Linked DNA regions of Homo sapiens: regions 2 and 3 are each linked to region 1. The links are contacts of gene promoters, found by promoter capture Hi-C in human tissues and cell types (Jung and others, 2019). All regions are on one chromosome and are shown on one strand. Each heading gives the region's core, a stretch centred on a gene start or on the middle of the fragment in contact. The rest is flanking DNA. Distances are from core to core; before and after follow the strand shown. Region 1 holds the start of RAB3B (RAB3B, member RAS oncogene family). Region 2 overlaps CC2D1B (coiled-coil and C2 domain containing 1B). Region 3 overlaps OSBPL9 (oxysterol binding protein like 9).

Evidence for each region. Contacts are between HindIII fragments. The study calls those that stand out against the background at their distance.
Region 2: a contact is called between a fragment that was not itself captured here and the fragment with the promoter of RAB3B in region 1, in 1 of the 25 tissues and cell types used here (spleen).
Region 3: a fragment that was not itself captured here is called in contact with the fragment with the promoter of RAB3B in region 1 in 1 of the 25 tissues and cell types used here (spleen).

What each region holds. Positions count from the first base shown.
Region 1 is chr1:51,988,258-51,993,002 of GRCh38, forward strand. RAB3B (RAB3B, member RAS oncogene family) reads right to left here and starts at 2,443. Exons shown (of 5, transcript NM_002867.4): 1 at 2,295-2,443. RefSeq lists a silencer at 2,357-2,466. The HindIII fragment of the contact is 14,307 bases long and covers 1,015-4,745 here.
Region 2 is chr1:52,353,281-52,358,025 of GRCh38, forward strand. CC2D1B (coiled-coil and C2 domain containing 1B) reads right to left here. Exons shown (of 25, transcript NM_001330585.2): 14 at 4,501-4,618; 15 at 4,246-4,418; 16 at 3,721-3,846; 17 at 3,104-3,162; 18 at 2,906-3,022; 19 at 2,491-2,564; 20 at 2,328-2,386; 21 at 2,118-2,169; 22 at 1,560-1,659; 23 at 1,328-1,418; 24 at 238-367. The coding sequence ends at 239. Among named protein-coding and RNA genes, the nearest start is that of CC2D1B, 11 kb to the right of the region's middle. RefSeq lists an enhancer at 3,891-4,392. The HindIII fragment of the contact is 6,192 bases long and covers 1-4,745 here.
Region 3 is chr1:51,640,536-51,645,280 of GRCh38, forward strand. All of the region lies in intron 1 of OSBPL9 (oxysterol binding protein like 9), which reads left to right. Among named protein-coding and RNA genes, the nearest start is that of OSBPL9, 26 kb to the left of the region's middle. The HindIII fragment of the contact is 3,924 bases long and covers 736-4,659 here.

The DNA of each region.
Region 1 (4,745 bases), core at 1,193-3,692:
ACTCTACTTTTCTAATTCAATCTGTCTTTAGACCATTCCCCACTGCTGACCCATCACCACCTTCTCATTGTTTTCCCAGGTCTCCTAGAGCCACAGAAACAATATCACAATAGCTACCATTTATTGAGCACCTACTAAATGTCTAGCATTCTACAAGATGCTTTCAAAGCATTCCATCTTGCACCAACAGATGCTTGATATTCATTTCCTTCCTCCTCCAGATTGGAAAGAGATAGCCATGGGTGTGTCCACTGACAAAACAGGAACACCTGCAGAATAACATCAGTGGCCTCTCTCTTTGTACATTGTTTTACAGTTTACAAAGTTCTTTTCACCCACATTATCCTATTTGATTCTCACAACAATTCTTGGGAATGGATGAAGAAATTGAGGCAGGAGCACCAATTATTCATTCAATCAACATTCACCAAGCACCTACTATGCACCAGGACCTGTGCTATACTTTAGGGAGATGGAGAGAAACCCTAGGAGCTTCAAGCTTAGAGGGGAAATCTATTTAAATATTTTGTATAGGTTACTGATGCCTCCCTTCATGTCATAATCTTTAAGAAACTGAAGATCTATTTCTTGGACTGGAGATGCTTTTAGATTTTTGCCTTTTCCCATACGGTTTCCTCTGATAGGAACACACTTTCCTCCACTGCTAGCTAAATCCTTCATGACCAGGAAGGCTTCCCCAACCCACCCACCTCCCCCAAAATGCTTCTTCTCTGGCTCCCACAGGGCACCAGGGCTTTCCACTTCTATAGATAGGGCCTTTCACGGCTTCCATTGTCTTCCTCTGTTTATAGGCACAGAACAGGTGGACACCCACCTGTGCGCGCGCACACACACACACACACACACACACACACATCCTCTCCTTTTACTGTCTCCCACCCCTTTCCATCTGGATTCCAGGAAGCCGGGGGAAGAGGGCCCATCTTGTTTTGTGTGTGTGTGTGTGTGTGTGTGTGTGTGTGTGTGTGTGTGTGTGTGTTTTGAGGGCCCATCTTTCTCCCACCTCCTCCACATCTCTCTTAGCTTCCAAAGGCTGCTGCCCTGCCCTCCCCAAAGTTGCTTCCATGCTTGGACTACAGAACAGAGTTGGATGACTTTTTCTGTCCACGATTCTCTTATTTTCTGTGATCCCCGGTGCCCGTGTAACAAGGTCCAGTGCCTGGGTCCCCTCCTTGGACTCCTGAGTGGCCGAGACACCGCTAGTGCGTGGACACCACTCCAGCCCCCATTACCTTTCCACCCTTACACCACGACCCACACCTGGCCTCCTCCCCAGGCTGACCCAGCGCCCCACCACCCTATCTATACACTCCAAGTTCTCCCACGATTCCTCCACTTGCAGCCGCCAGACCCTACTCTATTCCAGAGCCTCCTCTCCACTCCTGACCAGAATGTAGGCCCCTGTGTCCATTTCCAAGGCCACTTCCCTGTGTCTCCACCGGCTCCCTGCCCCCTTCCTCTGCAGCAGGGTAGACCCAACCTGGCCTCTCACCCTTCCATTCTCCCAAGCTTCCCGCCCCCAAGCCCCACCCCTCGTCTTCCATCTACAGTTACCCCCACGCCGGTCCCCAGCCGGGCTCAACCTCCGACCCCAGCTATCCATACCCACATCCCCCATAAATGACCCTCTTTCGACCAGACACTGCCCTGCTGCCTTTCTCCTTCCCAGCTATCCATACCCACATCCCCACCCCCGACCCTCTCCCAACCAGACACTCCCCAGCTGCCCAGCGCCCCTTGCCCTCGGCACCTCAGTCCCCTCCAGCTCCAAACGACCCCCGCCCAGCCAGTCCCCTCCCCTCAGCTCCTCACCTCCATGCCTCCCCCCGCACCCCCGCTCTAGCTCCCCTCAGTCCGCTCCCTTCACCGCCCCCTTCGCTGCCCCTCGGCTGCCCGGTACCACCTTTCCGCACAGCCCCACTCCGCCCTCCTCGCAGCTCCCCCGCCCCCCACGCCCCCGTTTCCCCCAGCGATCCCTCACTGCCCTCCAGTTGCCCCCCATCTCTCCTCCCAGCCCCAGCGCCGTCTTTCTTGCTCCCCTCCCGCCCTTGGAGCTCCCCCGGCTGCCCCCAACGTCTGGGAGACCCCCTCGGCGCCCCCTCCCTAGGTGAGCCCCACCTCTGCCGCCGCGGAGCCCCCTCCCTCGCTCCTCCCCCGGCTTCCTTCCGCTGCCCCGCGCTCCTTCTCGGCGCCCGCTCTCGGTGCCCAGCGCCCCGCGCCGGGGATCGGTCCCTGATCCTCCGCGGGCGGGCTGCCGGGGCCGCGCCCCTTACCGCGGACTCCGAGTGCGGGACGACGGGTTCGCTCCCGGACGGTCGGCGGGACGGCAGGACCTGGCGTCGGGAGGGCGCGGAGGGGGCCGGGGCGGGGCGCTGCGGGATGGTCTGGTCCGGTCAGGTCCTCACAGTGGCGCCTGAGGGCTGAGGCTCCCGCTCCAGCACTGCTCCGCTCCGGCCGCATCCAGGCCCCGCCCAAGGGCGGAGTCTGTGTTCGCCCCGCCCCGGCCCTCAACTCCTAGCAGGTGTAATCCGAGGTGACTCAGGACCTCCAGGTCCCCCATGTCTGGGTGACTCTCGTGATTTATCTTAATTGTCATGCCTCGTTCCATTGACTGAACTTACTAGGGTAATTAGAGAGCTTTGATGATAATGTAGCTGATGATGGGTAGCAGTTTTGCCATTTCCAAACTGCTTTCTGGTCCGGTCCGTTCTATGGCTCCGTCTTCACAAAAGCCCAGAGAGGGAGGCTGACTACAAGCGGAAACCAAGCCAGAAACCTGGACGCTGTCCTCTACCCTATCTGTGTTTCCTTCACACCCCACATCCCACCGCCTTAACATATCCCTGCCCTTCCTCTGTGTCTCCATTGCCCTTGTTCTGACTCCAGCATCATCACTTCTTGCTTGGACTAATGCAACAGCTTCCTAATTCCTGCCTTCACTCTCCAATTCACCCTATAAAACCAGGACGTGGTGTCAGCATGGCCATTTCCACCCTTGTACAAAAATTCTTTCTCCTGTGGTCTCCAGTCATACCACCCTCCACCCCTCCTCATCACTGACACCCAATTGTTCCTTATGCATTAAAGATTGCAGCCCCTGGCCCATGGTCATCCTAACTAGCCCCTGTTCTGCCATACTCCTGGTGACTTCGGTAGCTGTGAGACTTCCTGGTCCCATTCATTCTGAGTCAGATACCAAAATCATTTTGACACAAGCCCGAGCAACCCTTTAAAAAATGTCACCATGTTACCATCAACCTTGTTTAAGAAAACTCTCGGCCAGGCACAGTGGCTGACGCCTGTAATCCCAGCACTTTGGAAGGCCAAAGTGGGCAGATCACTTGAGGTCAGGAGTTCGAGACCAACCTGGCCAACATGGTGAAACCCTGTCTCTACTAAAAATACAAAAATTAGCCGGGCATGGTGGTGCATGCCTGTAGTCCCAGCTACTTGGGAGGCTGAGGCAGAATTGCTTGCACCCAGGAGGCAGAGGTTGCAGTGAGCCGAGATCACTGCACTCCAGCAGTGCACTCCAGCCTGGGCAACAAAGCCAGACTCCATCAAAAACCAAACAAACAAACAAACAAAAACCTCTCAATGGTTTCCCATTACCAGGAGGCTGTCAACAGGAGTAGAAAAATGTTCTTGCCTGGCCTGGCCCTAGGAAGTCCCACTTCCACTAGAGGAGGCAGATAGAGGAGGCAATAAATACCCCACCCTCAAATCCTGATATGGACTTCCAGTCTTCCTGAGGTCACAGGAGCCAGCTGAAGGCTTGCTCTAGAATCATTGTCTTTCCCCACACTTCTCCCCCATCTCAGATCTTAGAGGTCTGAGTCAAATACCAAAACCATTTTCCCCCCAAGTTCCATTATGACCCTGTCTACAGTGTACATCTCCAGCCTAGGAACCACCCAAGCTGACAGCTCCTCTGCTTGTCTGGCCTCTGCCTCAGACGCTTACTCTTCTGAGCTTCTTGCCCAGCCCTTTCACTCACACTGCCCATCACACTGGCAGCTCTTTCCTCTGTGCCTTCTAGAATCCTGTTCTTTTGTCAACAAACTCTGCTATACCCTCTGCTTCTTCAGAGTACTCAGGTGACTTCTTTGCCTGAGCCTCCTCCAGGTACTGCCTCCTTTGCTGCCCTCTGCTAGAAGGCTTCTCATTTTTCCACTCCCCATATACTATAAAACTAGGATGTGGGGATGGCATGGCCATTTCCACCCTTGTGCAAAAATTCTTTCTTCTGTGCTCTCCAGCCATACCCCCCTCAACCCCTCCTCATCACTGACCCCCCAATTGCTCCTTATGCATTACAGATTGCAGCCCCTGGCTCATGGTCATCCTCACTAGCCCCTGTCCTGCCATCCTCCTGGTGACTTCAGTAGCTATGAGATTTCCTGGTCCCTCAGTCCTTGTCCTCCACATCACCTTGGCCACCAGCTCCCATGGTCACTCTTGAGCTCTTAATCACCCACTGCTGGTACCTCTGTAATAGCAAAATCAAACATGCTACGCTGAACTGCTCCCTCACTCTCTTTCTCTCACAAGGCCCTACTTCCCTCATTTCAAAATAGACGAGATGATAATGATTATTCTTTCTTCCTAGGAATAATGAGACAGCATATAGAGCCATCCTTTTAAAGTTGTGAGACAATATGAGAACAGATGGTATTGCTTTTATGTAGCCTCAGTTCTTCTGGTTGCTTTCTCCTTCTCCCTCC
Region 2 (4,745 bases), core at 1,372-3,871, 370 kb after region 1:
TTTTAGAAAGGGTTTCCTGAAGATAGATAGATAGATAGATAGTTAAACCTTGGAAGGTTACCTTCTCTTCCCAGTTCTACTGAGGAACATCAGAAACTCAGCCCATAAGCCCTACCCAGCATGGTAGGTCTTTCTCATAGATGAGAAACTCCTAGGTTTTCTCTCCAGATATGAGTTGAGTAGTTAGTTGAGTAAAAGGAGGGGGCAAAGGTTCTGAAGGCCCAGAGAGCTGCCCACCTCACAAGCCCCTGGGCTCCAGAACCAGCCAGTTCTCAGTGACCATCTGCACATCCTGGCCACTCAGAGGCTCCCGCAGCCTCACCTTCACCTCCAGCTTCCCCCCGGTGGGCTTCCTTCCATCCAGGACCTGTGAGGACCACAGAGAGGGAAATGGTAACTAAGGGGACAGAGATGGGGAGCAGGCAGGTCCCTACATTCCCAGGAAAGAAGTGAGAGGAGCTAAGATGTCCTGTGGCATGAACACAGGAATCTCCATTCATGAAAACCCTACCCTCCCAGTATTTGGAGGAGGAGGTGGTGGTGGTTTTAGGTGAGTCTTATTAAAAAAGTAATAAATAAATCCAGACAAGCATCCTAGAGCTCTGTTCATTTTCTCCTCAATCCCCACGGCAACTTCTGGAAGAAACATTGGCTTGAAGAAGCAGCCTTCCACTGACCCAAACCCTCACTTCACAGATGGCCAAGAGAGAGAAGCAGATGACTCTATGTGGCAGAGTCAGCACTGGAACCCCAAACCCAGGGTTCCTTCCCATTCACCACGCTACTCCCTCTTTTGGGCAGAAGATGAGGCAGTCAATTAGGGCACAAAGCAGTACAATAGGCCCAAGAAGTCCAACCACCCTCAGTGGCTCCAATAGAGACCAGGGCCCGCATAAGAACAACTTCCCCAGGCAGGCAGTAGGGCCAGGTGTGCTACAGTGGGAAGAGCCCCAGCCTACATAGGTTATCAGTAAGGAGCTGGTCGTAGCTCTGCCAAGGACACACCATATGAGCTTACAGAACCCCCTTTCCTCTCGGACCTGAGTTTCCTCATTTGTCAGAGGCAAGGTCGTATAGTCCTTGCCTGTGGAATCCATTGAGTTCATGGAAACAAGGAGGCTGCCTTCTCCTGGGTCCCTCTGTGAGATTTCTCAGACCTTCTGAACCTCTCCATCTGTGAAATGAGGATTCCACCTACTCTAAGCACACTTGTGGAGAATTTCAAATTAAGTAATGAGCACGAAAACCTACAACAAGGTGTGGCATTCAGTGCGTATTGGCTCTTGTCGTACCAACCCCTTTGGCTTGCCCACACCCCAGCCCCTACCTCCACAATTTCTCTGATCTCACACTCATTCTCCAGCCGCTCCAGTTTCAGGTGTGCTGTGCCAACCAGCTTGTCGCTTCTGAAGAAGGACCTGGGGAGTCAAGAGGCAGCAGAGGATTGGACTGGGCAGGGAAGGCAGGAATGTGCTGGCTGAGCCCATGCAGGGGCAGCAGTGACAAACGCTCTTCCCTCCTCCCGGCCCGTGTGGCAGCATGACCGATAGGAGCCTCACCCTTTGTGGAAGATCTCAAACTTGATGCCTTTGCTCTGGATCACCCTCTTGAAGCCCCGGTGGTTTCGGTTGATGTTTAGTTTGAAGAGTTGATCAAATTCTGGCAAAGGGGGAGAAAGCAAGGAGGGGCTTGGCTCTCGGGATTTCCTGAGGAAGTGGAAATGGAGGCCCAGGGCTGGCTGCCTTCCCCCAATCTCTCCACCTGCATTTTGGGGTACTGCCTCCAAAGGGTGGTAGAGCATCGCGGTCCTGGCCTTGGAAGTGAGTTTTTGTACTCTTTTTAGTCATAGATTGTAACAAAGTAGGAAAGACTTGGAATTGGGATACAGAATTCCTGTGTTCATATCCCATTTCTACCACTTCCTTGCCATGAGGCCCCAGGCAAGTCCCTGTACCTCTCTGCGTGTTTCTCCAACTACAGAAGAAGCATGTTAACAGCACCTTTATCTCCCAAGTGGGGTGGATCAAGTAAGGGCATAGATGGGAACCCACTCTGGAAACACCAGTGCTGCCCACACACTCTGAGGGAGGAGAAAGAGGCCCACGTGTGGCCCTCACCTGGAGAGTTTGTGTTCTTCACCACAGCTGTTTTGCTTTTTTGAGCCTGGTCCTAAGCAGTGAGGAGGGAGAAGTCAGGACAGCGTATAAACAAAGAGGCACACAGGGCAGGCACTGCAGCCACACCTCCCAGGGATGGGAAGAAAGTGAGCACAGGGTCCTGGAATGCAAGGCGGGTTTCAGAGGATCCTACTTCTACCTGAACCTCACCGAGTTAGGGTAGTGAAACTCAAACCGCACAAAAGCATCCAGGTCATCGGGAGTCACCCCTGGGAAGGAGAAAAGGGAGTCAAGTCAGAGGGAGTGGCCAGGAGCCTAGCACTTGGAGTGTCCGGGCAAGAGCCTCCTGGAGTAGGGGCGGCCCTAGGGTTACCTGGAGGGGCTGGGAGGTTCATTCCCCGGACAATGATCAGATGCATTTCTGTGCTGTTGAGTTCTGAGAAGATCCTAGAGCCAAGCGGGAAGGAGAAAATGCTCAAAAGTGAAGGACAGTAGTGGAACAAGGTCCCTTCGTCCAGGGCCTGTCTGCCCAGCTGGGTGGTGACGGGAGGGAAGGCAGAGCTGGTATGCAGACCTTGATCTCTGACTTCTGGTCCAGAGCTCTTTCCACAGCACCCAGACAGCTGTGCGCTCTCCACTAGCATGCACCCTGTCGTCCTCAGCAGCCCCAGTGCCCACAGCGGGGCCAGGCTTGGGAAGCCTCACTAAAGGGGTAGCAGTCTCTGGCCTGGGCTCCCAGCCTCCTGCCCCTCCCTGCCTGGAGCCCCTGTTTCCCTAGGCCTTGGTACCTCACAGTCTGGAATGTCTTCAACTCAAAGTGGTGGGTGGGAGGGTCGAGGCCCTGAGCCTGGGCCAGCTGCAGGATCTCCAGCTGTTTCTTGCGGTCCTGAGCAAGCTTCTCAAATCTGACAGGGATGGGTATGTCAGCATGATGGTGGATTTTCTGCTCCCCACCCTATGAGCCCAGCCCCAGCCCTTGCACTTACCGGGTGGTCTCAGCCACGTTGCCCTGGTGCATGAACTGCTTGGAGAACAGCAGGCACTTCTGAAAATAGAGGCCCAGAGTGACTCCCGAGCCCAGAGCAGGACCTGCCTTGGTTGGCATTCAAGGCTAGACTTCTCAAAGCTTCAACTTTCCTCTGTAGCCTCACCTCTCTCCTCCCACAACACAGCCCCAAGGGCACTACTCCCAAGTCCCACCACGTTTCTCTGCCTACACTTTTGTCATTTTCTCTTCTGAGGAGAGCCATTCCCCAAATTAGCAACTCCTTCCATCAAAACCTAACTCAAACATCCCCTCAGAAGGCAGCCTTTCCAGAACAGGTGGCAGTTCAGATAGATAAATACATAAACATACACGCACATCACAATGTTCTTTCCCTCTTCTCTGTTGTTTGTACCACCCTGAAAGGGGTATTATCACCCCATCTCATAGATGAGGAAAATGTAGTTCAGAGAAGAAAGTGCCTTGCCCAAGTCACACAGTGAGTAAGTGGAAGAGCTGAGAATTTTGAGTCCAGGGCTGTGTGGTCTGAGCTCCAGGTCTTCCTCCACGGGGAGGCTGTGGGCACAGAGGGGAGGAACAGACGAGGGGCCTGCTGACCTCTTGTTGCTCCAGAAGCATTTTTTGCAGCTGGGCATACACCTCCTCCGCCTTCTGGGAGAGTCGCAGGTCCTCATGGTGGATGAGGATGAAGTCACCCTCCTCATCCGTCAAGGGCGAAGGCACCTACCCAGGTCACAAGGCCCCTCGGGCCCCAAGAGTCAGATTACTCCTCTACCAAGTCCAACAAAGGCAGGAGCCCAAACTAAGTAATTCTTCAGCTTCTACTAAAGTCCAGTGATGACAACTCATCGCCTCCCATTCTATCCCAAAATAACACTCTTGCCTCCCATGGCCTGGCCCAGCCTTGTCATCTCTGACCACAGGCAGCCCACCTTCCCTTCTCCTGGTTTCCTTTGGGGCCGTGAGGTAGAGGAGTATGAGCAAAAGGCTCTTTCCCAGCTGTCATCATGCTCTGTCCAAACCCTGCCTCATCCCAGAAGCTGCCCTTGTTCACAGCCTGTCAAGCCTGCCAGCCGCCACCTCCGCCTGAGAAGTCCTGGTGGTTAACCAGGTGGGACTCACCTTGGACAGATCAACAGGTCTGCCAGATCGGGCCTGGATGATCTGAGCCTCAAGCCATTTGGCTACCCGCAGATAGGCTTTGGCCTGCTCCAGGTCCTGGCTGCGCTTGGCCTGCAGGGCTGCCCGCTGATACTGCAGTTTCCGTGCCTCCAGCAGTGCCAGCTGCTCCCGCACTGAAGGGAGAAGGCCACTGGTTAGGGCCACACCTGCCCTCTCTAGGCCCTCAGTTCTTCACCCTGCTTGTCCCCAACTCACCAGATGGACTCGGTGACTCCTTAGAACTTGAGGCCCTGGGCTCAGGCAGGCGCTGGGATGAAGGGACTGTGGGCCGTGCAGGTTTCTTGGCCACTGGGGCCTGTGCTGGGGGCTCACCCTGCAGGTGCCCAGGAGGCTGTTAGGAGGGGATGTGTTCCCTAGCATAGTCATGGCGGCTCCCAGACTTGGGCTGTCTTCCTAACACTGTACTACATCGCTGTGTGACCTGAGATGGGTGGCTTCTC
Region 3 (4,745 bases), core at 1,448-3,947, 350 kb before region 1:
TAAAAATTTGATTGAAGAGGACTGAAAGTTTACAGAACCGGGGAAAAGGTTTCCCCTGTGTTACTTGGGAGTGTTGAATAGCTTGAATTGGGACTGAATGGGCATATTTTGAGTGAATTATGTTTGTTGGATGAGTAAGATAACTGGGAAAGTGGTCTGGGACCATTCATTGAGCAGACATTTATCTATTAATAATACCTTCCAGGTCCCAGGCATTAATTAGGTTCTGAAAGATAGGGTGGGAATAATAGTAATGTAAAGATAATTTTTTTTTTTTTTTGAAACAGGCTCTCACTCTGATGCCCAGACTGGAGTGCAGTGCATTGTAACCTCTAACTCCTGGGCTAACAGGATCCTTCCACCGCAGCCCCCTGAGTACCTAGGATTACAGGTGTGTGCCACCACACCTGGCTAATTAAAAAAAATTTTTTTTTTTAGAGATGGGTTCTCACTATGTTGCCCAGGCTGGTCTCCAACTCCTGGCCTGAAGTGATCCCCCTGCCTCAGCCTCCAAAATGCTGAAATTACAGGTGTGAGCCACTGTGCGTTGCCATATTAAAGCAGATTTAAGACTGACATTTAGCTAAATAGTTCTTAGTATGTTCTTAAAATTACTTTTTCCTAAGGATTTAAGAAATGGACCAAGCAGGCAGACCGCTGTGTGATTTGAGATTATTATGAGCTATTCTCTTGAGAATGCAGGTCATCTCATTGTTGGTCATTACCTTGCTCTGACTGGGGCCTCTTTTATAAGGGAATTAATCCCATTCATGAGGGCTCTGCCCTTGTGACCTAATCACTTCCCAAAGGCGCACCTCCTAATACCATCATCTTAGGGGTTGGGATTTCAACATATGAACTTTGTGGGGATGTAAACATTCAGTCCATTACAGTATGTATTCCTATAAATACATGTTTCTCACATTAAGTAAGCCATAGAAGGATATTTTCTAGAATAGTTTGTGAAATTAATTTTGGCAAGATAAGTTCTACTTTCTGATAGACTTATGTGACTCTTTCAGAAATTTCTTACCCTGGGAAAATAAAAATTGTTTCTGATTTTATTAATTTACTGATTTCCAGAAGGTTCTTTATTCTATAGCCAGCAAAAAGCTGCTTTTGGTTGCTTAACCCCATCCTAGATTACTTCTAGCAGGGCCTTACAAATGTGTTGATTATATCACCAACTATTTTGATAATGTAACAGTTGGAGGTTAGGATCTGTTTCTCAGCTTCCTGGGAGCACCGGGTCAATGCCGAGATAAATATCTGTTTAGATCTACAGAATAAATTGATTTTCACACTGACAGTATATCGAAGAGAATCTAGATATCCTAAGGTGTTTGCTGCCTAGATCTAGGCACACAGTATTGATTAGAATGTTTGGAATCAGCATTCCTTAGATGTTTCTTTACAGAAAAAGTACTGACTTTTAAAAAAGGTAAGTGTCAAGTGGTTATAAAGATGGTAGCTAGCGTAAAGGCCAAATGTTTTTTTTTCCTTTGAGGCAGGTTTAACAGACTTAGTAACACACTAAAATCTGTGAAGTTTAATTTGTCTTTGGGCAGCCGATTTTAATTTTCTGACCAACATAATCAGAATAAGAATAGAAGCTTCAAATTACTGGCTGTTGAGGCATAGTACATAAAATTGAGGGTTACGTTAATGAAAATTTAAATGGCTAGCTGTACTTACGTGTCTCCGTCCTATCATTTATTCAATATTTTTTGAGTTTCCTCTGTGTAATAGGTCAATATTCTCCTAGAATTTAAGGCTAATAGGGATGATGAAATTAAGTAATTTCAGAATTGTTTAATTACAGATTTATAAAGTACTTGGCAGGCTCTTAATTATTTATCTTTGTTAATTTTATCATGAATGCACACAAGGTATTCTGGATCAGAGACATTTCATAATAATAAATGTATTGGCCTGCTTTTGCCCTAGTCCTTACCCCTAGGATGATGCTATAAAAGCCAGGTCAATTGTCCTGCGTGAGTAGCCAGACACTCTGTAGGTGGGGGACAAGGAAAAATTATTTTTCTCTCCTATGAAGGGGAAATAGGCAACTGTCCCCCTCCCCTCATGAAATGGTCACTTAGGAAAGGTAATAAGCCTAAATCCTAACTCCAACCCTTTGGCATATCTGGAGTTTTATCTCTTTTTACATACAAATATCTAGGGAGATAGCTGTACCCCTTTTCTTAGCACCTTGGAAGCTTGGCCTAGGGAACTGCTCCAGGCTGTAACCTTTCAAACTTCTCTGGGAAATGAGAGAGGGTTTTATTATCCTTCCAGACCAGTTGAAAACAAAAGATCTAATCCTTATGGCATGCAGAAATGTTGCCAGGACCCTAGAGCTTTTTAGAAGAACATTGAGAAATCCATGGACATTTTATGTCTTAGTCTGTTTTCTGTTGCTATAACAGAATACCACAGACTAGATAATTTATAAAGGAAAGAAGTTTATTTTGGCTCATGGTTTTAGCAGCTGGAAGAGCATAGTGTCTTCTTGCTGCTTCATAACATGGTGGAGGGCATCACATGGTGAGAGAGGTAGAGCAAGAGAGGTGAGGGAAATTGCTTTTACGACAAAGTCACTCCATCAATAAAGAGCACACTCCTGTGATAGTGACATTAATCCATCAAGGAGGACAGAGTCCTCATTAATCTATTCATGAGGACGGAGGGATTAGGTTTCTAACACATGAACTTTTGGGGGATACACTCAAGCCCATAGGATTTTATTTTCCCACAGTATTATGGGAAAAAAAGGGTTTTATTATATCCTTGTTAGAAGTGAAGGGTTGGCTATCTGCTCTAGAGGTTCAGGTAAAGCTTCCCTCCTCAGGGAACTGAGGGTAAGTAGGAATTAGCCAGTAAAAAGAGTGAGGGTAGATGAGTAAAGGCACTTCAGGCAATGAGAACAATCCATGTAAAAGTCCTTAGGCAAGAAAGTGATTGGCTGGTTCAGGGAACTGAAAGATGAGTGTGGGTGGGGCCCAGGGATGATGGGGTATTTTGAGGTAGGCTGGAGCCAGGCCAAGCAGGGTCTCTAGAGAGAGCAAATTGATAAATGTGCATTTTATTTTAAGTGCAATGTAGAGCCATGAAGTACTTTTTTTTGCTTGCTTGCTTGTTTTGTTTTTTAATCGAAGAAGTAACCTGATCAGATTCATGTTTTGAAAAGACTCCTGGCTCCTGTGTGGAGAAAGGATTGGAGGAGAGGAAGAAGAGATAGAGAAGAATTAGAAGGTGATACAGGCTGGGTACGGTGGCTCACTCCTGTAGTCTCAGCACTTTGGGAGGCTGAGGTGGGTAGATCGCTTGAGCCCAGGCGTTTGAGGCAGCTTGGGCAACAAGGCGAAACCCCTTCTCTACAAGGAAAAAAAAAATTAGCTGGGTGTGGTGGCACATGCCTGTAGTCCCAGCTACTCTGGAGGCTGAGGTGGGAGGATCACTTGAGCCTAGGAGGCAGAGGTTACAGTGAGCCAAAATTGTGCCACTGCACTCCAGCCTGGGCAACAGAGTGAGACCTTGTCTAAAAAAAAAAAAAAAAAAAAAAAAAAAAGCAGGTGATACAATATTGGGATGTATTGTAGAGGGCTGGATTGGGGTGGTTGATGGTAGAGATGAGGTTAAATGAAAGGTTTTGAGAGTTTGTTTTTCTTTTTCCCTTATGACCTCATGAAAGAAGATTTGAGAGCTTTTATGAGACAGAAATGAGGGGACTTTGATTGATTGGATGGAAGAGAGACAGGATCACGAGTTAGTTTTATACATATTGAGTTTTGTTTTGTTTTGTTTTTGAGACGGAGTCTTGCGCTGTTGCCCAGGCTGGAGTGTAGTGGCGCAATCTCGGCTCACTGCAACCTCTGTCTCCCAGGTTCAAGCAATTCTAGCTGCCTCAGCCTCCCTAGTAGCTGGGATTACAGGCGTGTGCCACCACACCCGGCTAATTTTTGTACTTTTAGTAGAGACAGGGTTTCACCATGTTGGCCAGGCTGGTCTTGAACTCCCGACCTCATGTGATCTGTCCGCCTCAGCCTCCCAAAGTGCTGGGATTATAGAGGTGAGCCACCGCGCCCAGCCCATGTTGAGTTTTAAATGCCTTTGAGAAAGCCAGGTGGAGATGTGCTGAGGGAGAGAGTGGAGAAAATGTGAAATAGCCCTTGCCGAGAATGGGAGAGCAAGTCTACTGATGAATCATTTCCTGCTCTTCCCTCTGCCTGGGACTTTGCCCGCAGATTCTTCACTTTACTCGGTCCTCTAATTCAAATCTCAGTTCTTGTATCAACTCCTTGAAGAGCTTTTTCAAGCTACTTAAGTTAAAATAGAACCTCCTTTCCCAACAATAACTTTCTGATCATCACTGCTCTAATTTAAATGTGTCCCCCAGCATTCATGTGTTGGAAACTTAACTGCAACACTGCAACAGTGTTGGGAAGTGGGGGCTAATGGAAAGTGTTTAGGCAGTCCCCTTGTAAACAGATCAACGCCATCACAAAAAGGGCTCGCTCACTTGTACTCTTTGCCTTTCCACCCTCTGCTCTGCGATAAATAGGGCTCTCACCAGATGCTGGTGCTTGGATCTTGGAATTCCCAGCCCCTTAAAACTTGAGAAAATAAATTTCTGTTATAAATTATGCAGTCTCTGGTATTCTGTTATAGTAGCACAAGATGCACTAAGACAATCACCTTCCTTTATTTTCTTAACACTTATCACCAGCTGAAACTATCTTCTT